Linked DNA regions of Homo sapiens: region 2 is linked to region 1. Evidence: promoter capture Hi-C in human tissues and cell types (Jung and others, 2019). All regions are on one chromosome and are shown on one strand. The core of a region is centred on a gene start or on the middle of the fragment in contact, and the rest is flanking DNA. Distances in the headings are between cores, read along the strand shown. Region 1 holds the start of BOC (BOC cell adhesion associated, oncogene regulated). Region 2 overlaps NEPRO-AS1 (NEPRO antisense RNA 1).

The links. Contacts are between HindIII fragments. The study calls those that stand out against the background at their distance.
Region 2: a contact is called between a fragment that was not itself captured here and the fragment with the promoter of BOC in region 1, in 1 of the 25 tissues and cell types used here (mesenchymal stem cells).

What each region holds. Positions count from the first base shown.
Region 1 is chr3:113,208,325-113,214,204 of GRCh38, reverse strand. BOC (BOC cell adhesion associated, oncogene regulated) reads right to left here and starts at 2,648. Exons shown (of 20, transcript NM_001378074.1): 1 at 2,189-2,648. It overlaps LOC124909486, which reads left to right. Exons shown (of 2, transcript XM_047449436.1): 2 at 1,925-5,880. The coding sequence ends at 2,650. RefSeq lists an enhancer at 1,636-2,287. The HindIII fragment of the contact is 6,739 bases long and covers 2,237-5,880 here.
Region 2 is chr3:113,158,735-113,164,614 of GRCh38, reverse strand. It overlaps NEPRO-AS1 (NEPRO antisense RNA 1), which reads right to left. Exons shown (of 3, transcript NR_186663.1): 2 at 2,596-2,681. All of the region lies in intron 2 of LINC02044 (long intergenic non-protein coding RNA 2044), which reads left to right. Among named protein-coding and RNA genes, the nearest start is that of LINC02044, 6.1 kb to the left of the region's middle. The HindIII fragment of the contact is 3,545 bases long and covers 1,177-4,721 here.

The sequences.
Region 1 (5,880 bases), core at 1,399-3,898:
TTACCAAGAGTTGGCTCACCAATTAACAGCTAAGCAGAGTCCTCTCTATTTTTTCCCCACACCCTCCCTCTCCAGTTGTAGTCAAAGAATCAACCATTCTGGCTTCTAGCAACCTCTTTTCCCAAGTAAAGCCAGTGGCCTATGGCGTGGGGGACAACTGCTCCCTAGCGAATGTCTCTTGCAGTGAAGCATTTCTGAAGTATCTCGATAGAGGATAAAAGAGACAGTGTCTGAGGTCTCAATCCTCAGGCTTCATAAATGTGTAGACACCCTCCAGCCTCCTCAAGGCCCAAATTCTGAGTGACAAATCTATACAGGGGAGGACAGTGTCAGCAAAGTGGCCCAATGAGGCAACTCTTCTTTCTTTCATTTTACCTCTTTGCATAAACTCATTTGAAAAACTCATAGCAGGAAAATAATAACTCTACTGCTGTTTCTGCCCGGCCTCTGTCCCACTGACCCCAAGGTGCTTTCAGATCACCACGAGAAGCTTCTGGGTCTCAATTATGAGACCATTAAAAAGTACCAATTATAAGACCTCAGAAATGTTTCTGGGAAACCTGTTACACACCTCAAAATGGCTAACCTCTTGCCTCAGATTTACTTTAAGTTCAGAAAACAGGTCACCCAGATGTATGGGCATCCTAGCCCCCACAAGCAGCCCAAGACTGTGGTTTAATATTTTCCATGCTGCCCTTAAGAAAACGAAGATTGATTTATTGGCTGTAACCAAAGGGATGAAAAAAACCATCACAGAGCTGGGCTGCCTGTTTAAGACCCAGTCGTGGAATAAATCAGAAATGTCTGCACACTGAAGTTTTAAAATGACATTCATCCAATGGTCAATGTGTACCGAGTTCTGGACAACAAAGAACTAGGTGACAAATGTGTGCTGGGCACAGTGCATCTGCAGGTGGCACAAGGGCCTGAAATCAAAATATAATCTTCACTCAGTCCACTCAAAGAGGTAACTCTGGGTCAAAAACTTAGGCGAACCCATTTGAACTTGCAGAGAAGGGATGAGGGGAGCAGCAGAACACCCCACCACACCCAAAAAGTGCCAGTTTGGGATTGCTGGTGTGTGGTTTCGGTATTCTTAGCTCTACTGCCACATCTCTGGAGGAGCACAACTCTGTTCCAAGCAACTCTGGCACTGCCACCCCCATCCCCAAAACAAAACTCTGCCAAACAAATCCCCGAGGCTCCATTAACTCCTTCAGGTCTGCCTGCCTCTCTCATCCCTCAGCATTCTCCCATCACCTGGAAAAGCAAATTAATACTGAACATCCTGAAAGTCAAGCAGGCCCTTCAACACCCCCATGAAAATTCTTCCTGGGTTCCCTGCCCTCCCCACAGCCCCGTCCCACTGGTTCCAGAGATTCATTTCCCACACCTTCTCACAGTTACATCAACAAAAACCCCAGGAGGACGCTGCTGGCGCGAACACGCACACACGCGCGCGCACACACGTACACGCACACACGAACTCTCTCTCTCACACACACACACACCTCTTTCACCTTTGCCCCAGCCCCTCAGACACCTCGGGCCACTCGGCTTCAGCCTCGCCCCTCTGCGCCAACAGCTAGGGATGCTTCCCTCAAGCTGCGTCGCTCCCGGTCCGCTGAGTTCCTCATTTTAGTGTTTTTCCTTTAGAAGACGCCAACTATGAGAAACCCTCACCCTCCAAAGAGGCCGAGTGCGTGTTGAGTGACTCTACGCATTTGCCGCCACGCCTCGGGTTCCCCCCACGGCCTGGAGCATGGGGCCGGGGCGCTGGTGTCAACCTTCGGTGGAAGTTTGGGAGGCTGGCTGGATCCTTCTTCCACCCGAGAAGCTTCTGGGAACCGCTGAGGCGAAACCACCATCGCCCGGCCAGACCGCTGCGGCAGGGAACGAGATGCGGCGCCCCTGGGCCCCGTAGCGGCTGCAGCCCCCGGGACCCCCGCTGCCCGCCTCGCCCCAACTTCTTCGCCCGGCGCCCGGCGCGCCCAGCCTCGGCCGCAGCTCCCAGCCCCGGGCGCCCGGCCGAGCGCTGGGACCCGGCTCCCGCCGCCGGCACGTCCCCCGGCAGCCACTCGCTGGCGCTGCCTCGGCCTGCGGCCGCCTCCCGCCCCCTCCTCTCCCCGAACCAACAGTAAACACAACTTTTTATGAAAAGAAAACAAACTTCAGCGACGTGACTCACCTCTGCTGCAGCCGGCGCCTGGGAAGGGCGAGCCGGGGCCCGGGGGCCAGCGTGGTGGGCGCGAGGGAGCCACACAGCGCCGCGCCGCACGGACACACAACACGCTCGGTGACACCGGGGACACACAACACGGGCGAGCGGCCGCGGCTGGAGCAACAAAGGAGCCGAGGACCGAGAAGTTGCGGGCCGGAGAGGGAGGGCGCGTGCGGGCGTGTTGTGGCTGTGGCGGGCGTGAGGGTGTGCGCGCCGTGTGTGCGCGTGTGTGTCTTTTCTGTGTGTGTTTGTGTGTCTCTGTGTGTGTGTCTGTGCGCGCGCGCGGCGGCTGACACCGGCGGGCCGGGGCTCAGGGTCCCCGCGGCAGAAAGCGGCGGCCGCGGGGGCGGCAGCAGGAGGACAACGCAGGGGACGCCGCGCCCAGCGCACCCGGTCCCTCCATATGGAAGAAGCTTTTTGGATGACTGAACTCGCAAACAATTCCTTCTTTTGCTTCTCCTGCCTAGGAGCCTCCCATTACCGTGCGAGGAGGAGGAGGAGGAGGGAGTGGAGGAGGCTGGGAGGAGGGGGAGGAGCAAAATGGAGCAAAGAAAAAGTCTTGGAAAGGAAGCTGGAAAAAGTCCCCCAAACTCTAGGGCAGTTTTCCCGTTAACACCCACTTTTTGCTGTGCCTCAGACCCGCGCTCTCCTCCAACTTCTTTTGCTTTCCCATACCAAAAGCACCATCTTCTCCCTTTTCCCCGAACCCAGGGGGCTCCCCTGAAGCCTTCACTTTCTCTTTAGCTTCACCTCGCACCCTTGCTCTTCCATGTACAATCCTTCCCTCCTTTCGCCTAGTCTCTTCCAAGACTTTCCTGACACCCACCTCTCAATGGTCTTCTTCTTCTGCAAGACAAACTGTTGGATAAATCATTAAAAGCAAACTCATCAGAAAATGGGACAGCGGCGGTGGAGAAAATGATAAGGAAACCAATCTCAGGGAAGCCTTAACGCAGCCTCCCCCGACCCCCTCGGTCGGTTGGGGAGGGTTTGCCGCGTCGTCCATTGACAGCGCCCTGACCTCCATTCATCATCCCAGGATGGAGCCAGGGAGGAATGGGGAGGGAGAGCTGGGGCTGGGGTTGGGGGCATGGGTTGGGGGTGCTAGTGGCCACGGAAAAGTTAGTTACCTATGCGTGTGTATGTGTACGCGCACGCGCGCGTGTGTGTTGGTCAGAAAACTTTCAGAGCTGTGGTTCTCAAACTTGATCTGCAGCAGGACTCCCTGGAAGGCTTGCTAAATCCCTTTGCTGGGCCCCACCTCCAGAGTTTCTGATTCAGTAGGTGGACCTGGGAATTTGCATTTCAAATAGGTTCCCAGGTGATGCTGATGCTGCAGGTCAGGGGCCACGTTTTAAAAACTACCTTTCCAGGGCAGTGAGAAGGCAAATGTTGAGTTGGTGGCAAATTGGATTCCCTTCTTATTTTTTAGGAATGAAGCACAGGTTGTGAGCGGTCATCCATTCCGTATCTTCATTGCAGCTGAGAAAACCAAGTCCCAGCAGGGCTAAGCCATTTGTTTAAAGTGAACTGGGAGTTTGTGCCAAGCTGGTGAGGAAGCTGTCCTGGAAATAAGACAGCCAGGCTAGTAGTAGGGTGAATGGGGGTGCTGCCTTCCCTGTGTGGCTGGACAGCTGCACTGGGAGTCAGGAAGCCACTGTGACTTTGGAAAGTCACTTAACTTTTCTGGGCCTCTGGGGGTTTTGTGTGTGTGTGTGTGTGTGTGTGTGTGTGTGTGTGTGTGTGTGTGTGTGTTTGTTTGTTTGTTTGTTTTTTGACAGAGTCTCACTCTGTCGCCCAGGCTAGAGTGTAGTGGTGCAATCTCGGCTCACTGCAAAGTCTGCCTCCTGAATTCGAGAGATTCTCCAGTGTCAGCCTCCCAAGCAGCTGGGATTACAAGCACCTGCCACCATGCGCGGCTAATTTTTGTATTTTTAGTAGAGACGGAGTTTCACCATGTTGTCCAGGCTGGTCTTGAACACCTAGCCTCAAGTGATCTGCCCACCTTGGCCTCCCAAAGTGCTAAAATTACAGGCGTGAGCCACCTCACCCGGCCCTGTTTTGTTTTTTATTAACTTGTTTCTTGTCAGTAAACATACATACTTTACACTGAGTATAGGACTCTAATTGAATCTGAACCAAAAGACCTTTACAAAGGAAACATAAATGTATTTTATTCCATATTTTGCACTATTTTTTCTCCGGTATTTAGTCATTCAGGCAGAAGCCAATTTCCTTTTTGATTTATCGAGTACTTTCAGCTCTGTGCCTGGATTCTTAGGCATGTTCCTCTGGCAAAATGGATCTGGAGGATGATGCATTTTCAGCAAGAAGGTGAAAAGGACTCTGAACTCTCTCTGTGCATTATCCACCTACATTTCCTTTTCCTACTTAATCATCCTAATTTTCCTTCCCTTTTAATCTCTAACAATCTCCCCCAACATTCTCAAAGACCTATTTTTCTTTCCAGTCATTGACTATATTAGCTTCCACTTTCTTTTGTCCTCCTTCCAAGGCACAATTCTGGACTACAAGGCCTGGGGTCCACCCTGGGTACAGAACTTTTAATTCCCCCAAGGGAATGGGTCAACCAGCTTCCTCTGCAGTGATAACACTCCTTCTCCCCAGGGACCCAAGCAGCGTATCCAGCCTTCTGTTTTTCAAAGATGATTCCAAGTACCGCTCAATGAGAACGTGATGCATGAAGGTCTCAGATTCATTCTTTTATATTCCTGTATATACTATTCGTTGCTTGACATCTCAAAGATATCTTCTACCCCTTCTGTCATCTTTCTCCTAGGACTCTCCATTCTCTTACTCTGGTCTTTGGGTCCACACAGCCCTAGGCTCTGAGTTAAGCATCAGAACACAACAGAACACAAAGAATGTAACAGTCCCTACCAGCACCATTTAGTCAGGAGAATGACACACTGCCTTGTTCCTTCATGCATGCAGGCTGCTCACCTTTCTTTCTTTCCTTTTTTTTTTAAGATGGAGTCTGGCTCTCTCACCCAGGCTGGAGTGCGGTGGCATGATCTCAGCTCACTGCAACCTCCACCTCCCCGATTCAAGCGATTCTCCCTGCCTCAGCCTCCCGTGTAGCTGGGATTACAGGTGCCTGCCACCACGCCAGGCTAATTTTTTTTTTTTAAGTAGAGACGGGGTTTCACCATGTTGGACAGGCTGGTCTCGAACTCCTGACCTCAGGTGATCAGCCCGCCTCAGCCTCCCAAAGTGCTGGGGTTACAGGCATGAGCCACTGCTCCCGGCCTGCTGCTCACCTTTCTTATAGTTTAGGCAGAATGCAGATCACAGCTTAATAAAGAGGACTTAATTCTGCTGGCGGCATCAAGCACACTGTTGGTACCTCAGATATGTTTATTGTTTTTATTGCTCTTTGTATTAATGTGATTGTGTTTATTACTACTAGTCCTGTAAGAACAACGTATCTGAATTTTCTCCCCACTCCATTTTGCCTGGAGGGTATTTCTTGCCTAATTCCCTCCTCCCCTTTCAATTAGTTTCTCTATCTTAACCCACCCCAACCCATTCCAGCATCTCTAGCCATTTCAAAACAGTTAGGTGGAGTCTGGATCTTGTAAGGTGCTTTTTGCTACTGTCCGTTCTGTTGATGGTGATTTACCTCTAGCACCTTGCTT
Region 2 (5,880 bases), core at 1,700-4,199, 50 kb after region 1:
CTAACAACCCATCATCTAGGTTTTAAGCTCCGCATGCATTAGGTATTTGTCCTAATGCTCTTCCTCCCCTTGCCCCCCACCCCTCTACAGGCCCAGTTGTGTGATGTTCCCCTCCTTGTGTCCATGTGTTCTCATTGTTCAACTCCCACTTATGAGTGAGAACATGTGGTGTTTGGTTTTCTGTCCCTGTGTTAGTTTGCTGAGAATGATGGCTTCTGCTTCATCCATATCCCTGCAAAGGACATGATCTCATTCTTTTTTATGGCTGCATAGTATTCCATGGTGTATATATGGCACATTTTCTTTATCCAGTCTATCATTGATGGGCATTTGGGTTGGCTCCAAGTCTTTGCTATTGTAAATAGTGCTGCAGTAAACATACGTGTGCTTGTGTCTTTATAGTAGAATGATTTATAATCCTTTGGGTATATACCCAGTAATGGGATTGCTGGGTCAAATGGTATTTCTGGTTCTAGAACCTCGAGGAATCACCAAACTGTCTTCCACAGTGGTTGAAGTAATTTACACTTCCACCAACAATGTAAAAGCATTCTTGTTTCTGCACAGCCTCGCCTAGGCTATTTCATTTGAACAACTTTCTGGTTATTAAATAGTCTTTAACAACACTATGACTTTGGTGTGTGTGTGTTTAAGAAATTTATGATAAAAACAAAACATACAAACAACAGAACTGCCTGTATTTTTTAAGGCTTCAAGGTGATTTCTGTGAAATAAATCAGCTTCTGGGGTCTGGGTTCCTCCTGTGGGCATGTCTGCTAGTGCATTTGAATCTTATGAGAAGTTTTCCAGACTGAACCTATGAATGCTTTAGACAAATCTTGTTCTTTAACCGTATGGAGAGTTGGGGGGGATGTCTCACTTCCTATGTGAGGAAGAAACTTGGGAAGATCTGCCGTTAGTTTGTCCCAGGTGGAAGAAAATGGTCATAGCAGGTCTCCTTTTAGGTTCTGTTAAGCAGAGGCCTGGTCTATGAGATGTTGAGAGGAAGAATTCAGAGATGAGGAAATAGAAGCAGTTTCCTGAATGTTCTATCAGCAGCCACTTACTGGTTCATATGGTACAACTCAAGTAGGGGCGAACACAGCCCCTACCTACAAGGTCACAGTTGTAGCCACCAGCATAGAGATGAGGAAGGCTTTGCTCAAGTGGCCTGAGATTTGCAGCGTTTGTTTATGTCTTTTGCCCAGAACTGCACAGTTGGTGGTTGAAAGGGCACAACTGTTTTCCCTGTAATTGGGAGCGTGGGGGGCACAGTCTGTTCACAGGTTAGGAGGTCAGTCCAGCACTGGAAAATCACACAAGGCATTAGAGTGGCTTCCAGGCCCTCTAATAATCTGATGAGCGTGTGATCTTCCAGTGGCCTCTCATCTCAGAATAAATTCCTAAATCCTTACTACGTTCTGCAAGACCCTATGTGACCTACATCGTGCATCTGCTTGCCCCAACCTCTGTGACCTTATCTCCTATGATGCCACCCTCACTCACTATTTCCAGCCACAGGGGTCTCCCTGTGGCACCTCACACACCCAGCACACTCCTGCCTCTGGCATTATTGTTATCTTAGCCTTGGAAGCGCTTCCCCTCAATGTTTGCACAACTCACTCCCTCACTTCATTCCAGTTCTGCTCAAATGTCACATCATTACCACCAAGTCATTCTTAGACCACCCTATCTAAAATAGCATCCTCCCTCCATCATTTAATTATCTAGCTAGCCTCTTCCCTGGCTTGATTAGCAATGATTGCCACTGTTACACACATATATATCTTGTTTATCATCTTATTATAAATGTAATACATCTTGTTTATCATCTGTCTCTCACACTAGAATATGGATACTCTGAGAGCAAGGACTTTGTCTTGTTCACTGCTATACCCCTGGCACCTTAACAGTATCTGGCACATAAGGTTCAGTGAACAGTGGTTAAACGAATGAATGGCCATTCTTTCCTTTCCTGCTGGCTGATTAACTTTACCTTTCAGTCTAAAACTTAGAGTAGGGATGTCCTGCTAAAGAAAGGTGGCCAGATGAAGTGGGAGCAAATAAGCCATTTCTCGTATGGCCCTTGGTCTCTTCTTGCGCTCAAGCCTCAAGTTGCCACCATGGTTTCAGGTAGAAACTGTCTTCAAACCATCTGAATCTTAACTCAGAGGACATCAGAGGGATCTATCTGTACAATTTCCCCTAGATATAAGTTACCCATTCAGACACAGCCTCCTGCTCAGCTTTCCTGAGTCTCCCAACTTCCAAAACCTTCCTCTATCCTTCAGCCCCCATTTCTAACTCTACATCAAGATTCTATGTCCGTGATACAGTCCATGACTTGACGTGATCTGTCCTCCTGGCACTCAAATTTATTCTGATCTCTGTGGCTACCCCTCAGTCTATTCTTCCGGACCTCTCGTATCTCCACCATCCACCTGCGTAGAGCCTAAGCCCTGAGAGATCTAATGATTGAGGATAATATCCTTAGAGTGACCTACCACATATTCCCATATCTCCACCATCCACCTGCCTAGAACCTAAGCCCAGAGAGATCTAATGATTGAGGATAATATCCTTAGAGTGGCTTACCACATGTGATTCCATGTTAGTAGAGCTTCTGAGCCACTCCTCTCAGTTTAGAATTTTGTGTAGGCAGAACATTGTCTCAAGATGCCCTAAAAAGTAAAATCAAAGGACAAATCTTTAAAGCCTGAGTGGTGCTCCTTGGCAGAAAGCCGAGATGCTCTGTAACAATGTGTGGGTTCATAAGTGGCCAGCTTTTCTGCTCTTCTGATGCTGTAAGAACACCAGAGGCTGTCGCTTCTGAAAACTTAGAAGCTGACATCATCAGAATTGCTGTTCCTGACTGGTGGGTTCTTTCTGATCTCTAGGACGGCAGCTTTTCCCACGTCAGGTAGTTGCCTGGGACACTGGCCTCATCTGAAGGAGGACTCTGGGCCCCATGAGGCTGGGGGGCTAAGGCTGGGGAAGAGAGGAGGACAGAAGAGGCAGGATGGCTGTAACTAGTTATAATTGCCTCCCTACACACATGTCTAAGCTTGGTGCCCACTCAAACACTGCTCAGTCAAGGAGTATACATGTTGACTGAGTGACTCTCCCTCCCCTTTCTCACTGCACTACACTGGGAGATTTTTTTAAAAGCTATAATGAATTTTGCTATATCTCCCATGTCATAATTAGTACCTATGAGGGCAAACAATAACAATGACATGATGGAGACAGGCAGCACCTAGCTGTCTAGCAGAAGACACAATGCTATGCTATGCAGAGGTGAAAAAATTAAAATATTCATGCACACATGTCATTAAAGCATTTTAGCATTCTCGTTTCACATACACCTGACCTGTGGCACTTTGGGCATGTTCATTTGCCTACTGCAGACAAATAGCTGGGGTGTATAGCAGAATAAGGCCAAGTGCTCTTGCATGGTGACACAACTGGGAAGGAAAAGGATTTGAATCCAGATTCTTACTGCCACACACCTCCCTCTCCCCACAACATCAGCATTGATACCTGATCATTTGCTAACTTGCAATCATATAAGAAAAACAAATGTTGATTGACATTCAAGATAATGTATAATTAGAAGATATCAAAGAACATCTCTCCTATCAGAAGGTCTTTCTAAGTATAAAACAAAACCTAGAAATCAGAATGAAAAGATGAATAAATTTGACTAAATATAAAAGAAACATCTCTGCAAGGTAAAAATCCTTGGTGGCCTGTAATCTCAGCAGTTTGTGAGGTTGAGGCAGGAGGATAGCTTGAGCCCAGGAGTTCAAGACTAGCCTGGCCAACATAGGAAGACACTATCTCTAAAAAATAAATAAATAAATAAGAAAGAAAGAAGAAAAGAAGAAAAAAGAATAGCTAGATGTGGTGTCATGTGCCTGTAGTCCCAGTTACTGGGAGGCTAAGGAGGGAGAATTGCTTGAGCCCAGGAGTTTGAGGCTGCAGTGAGCTATGATTATGCCACTGCACTCCAGCCTGGATGACAGAAGACCTTGTTTCTAAAAAAGAAAAAAAAAAAAAAATCCAGAGTAAAAGACACATGATACACTGATACACTAGGGAAAAAAATGTGAATCATGGCATCTTGTATCACAGACAAATGATTAATTTTCCTAATAAATAAAAAACTGAAAAATATCGATTTAAAGAGCCCTACCAACCCAATAGAAGAAAGAATAAATATTAATAAAGATTTAACAGAAAAGAATATACTAATAACTATGAAATGTGTGAAAGATGAACAGTCTCATTCACAACAAAATAAACTAATTAAAAATATATTGACAAACCATTTTTCACCGATTAAATTGGCAAAGTCAAAAAGCTTGACAAACTGTGTTGGTGAAGGCTTAGGGAAATAGGCACCCCCATATACTGTAAGTGGGACTGTAAAATAGTATATGTTAAGAAAGAAAATATAGCAAAATTTATTATAATTACAAATGAACAAAGCATTTGGCTCTCTTCTAGGGATTTATCTTAAAATACACTCTCATCTGTTAAATGATGCATGAATGATGAAATTCATTGCAGTGTTATTTTAAATAATAAAAGACTGGCAACAACTTAAGTGTCCATCAATAGGTGACTAGTTAAATTATGATACATTTATACAAGAAAACATTTTTCAGCTTAAAACAGAATGAGAATTCTTTTTATGTACTGACAGAAAGATTTTAAAAATATATTAAGTGAAAAAAAGCAAAGTACAAAATAGTGCATAGAGTATGCCATCTTTTGCAGGACAAAGTGGGGAAATAGTGATATGCATTTACTTGTATATATAAAATAGCTCTGCAAGGATACACAAAAAACTAGCAGTGTTAGTTGTCTTGAGCAAAAGAGTGGCTGAGAGACAGATGTGAAGGAGCTATTTTTACCTATTTTCTTTCAAACTTTCTAAGTTTTAAACAGGTCAATGTATTACTTCAAAAAAAATAGGCAACTTATTTTTGTCTTTGAGAAGTATCAATCTAATCATCAACCTCAAAAACTAAAATCTTGAATAAAGATGTCAACGAATTCGTGCAGCAAATAAGCTTTAACAAATTTTAAATTCCCAATTCATGGTTGAATAAGGGAGAAAGAGACGGAGTGTGAGAAAATGGGAGCATTAGATACCATCGAGGATACTAGAGACGGATGATGAGGCAGAAGATAAACAGGGCAAGCAGGACAGACACAGAGGGAGAGAGTAACAGAAAACAAGGGAGACAGGCAAAGACAAGAGTTGTTGAAGTAGGTGCTACTGTTGGGTTAAAATGCTGCTACTGCACTCTGGCATTCAACTCAGGGTGTGCTTCAGACCAGACTGTCCCTTGTTACTACTACTCTTGGAGATTGAGTTTATTTTTCCACGGATTTCTTGGGGTTTCTCTGTGTATAAGGAATTGACAAGGGTTTGAGAAATTTACTTAGGAAACATGGAGGTCCTCTGACCCCACCAGCGAAAATAAACAAGCGTAAAGTGGTACTTACAGGAGAATAAAATAACTGCGGCTCTAGGATTTGGCAGATTATATCAGTAATATGAATTGTGAATATTCAGTGGGTTAATGGGATTTGCCACATATGCGCGTGTCGTAAGGTGTGAGGATGTACTGAGATAAATTCCATAGAATTTACCCCAGTGTATTTTCTTCCTTGTTAATATTCATAATTATTTTGTTTCCATAACACTTTAAACAAAAACCGCACTGTAATGGGTTGCTTATCTTCTTGCATTCAGTTGATTGTAAACTTTTTGAGGGTAGGGGGTTATATCTTCATCTTTGCATTCCCAAATCTAGCACAGTGCCTGGCACAGTATAGGTAATTATTGTTAAATTATTGCTAAATCTG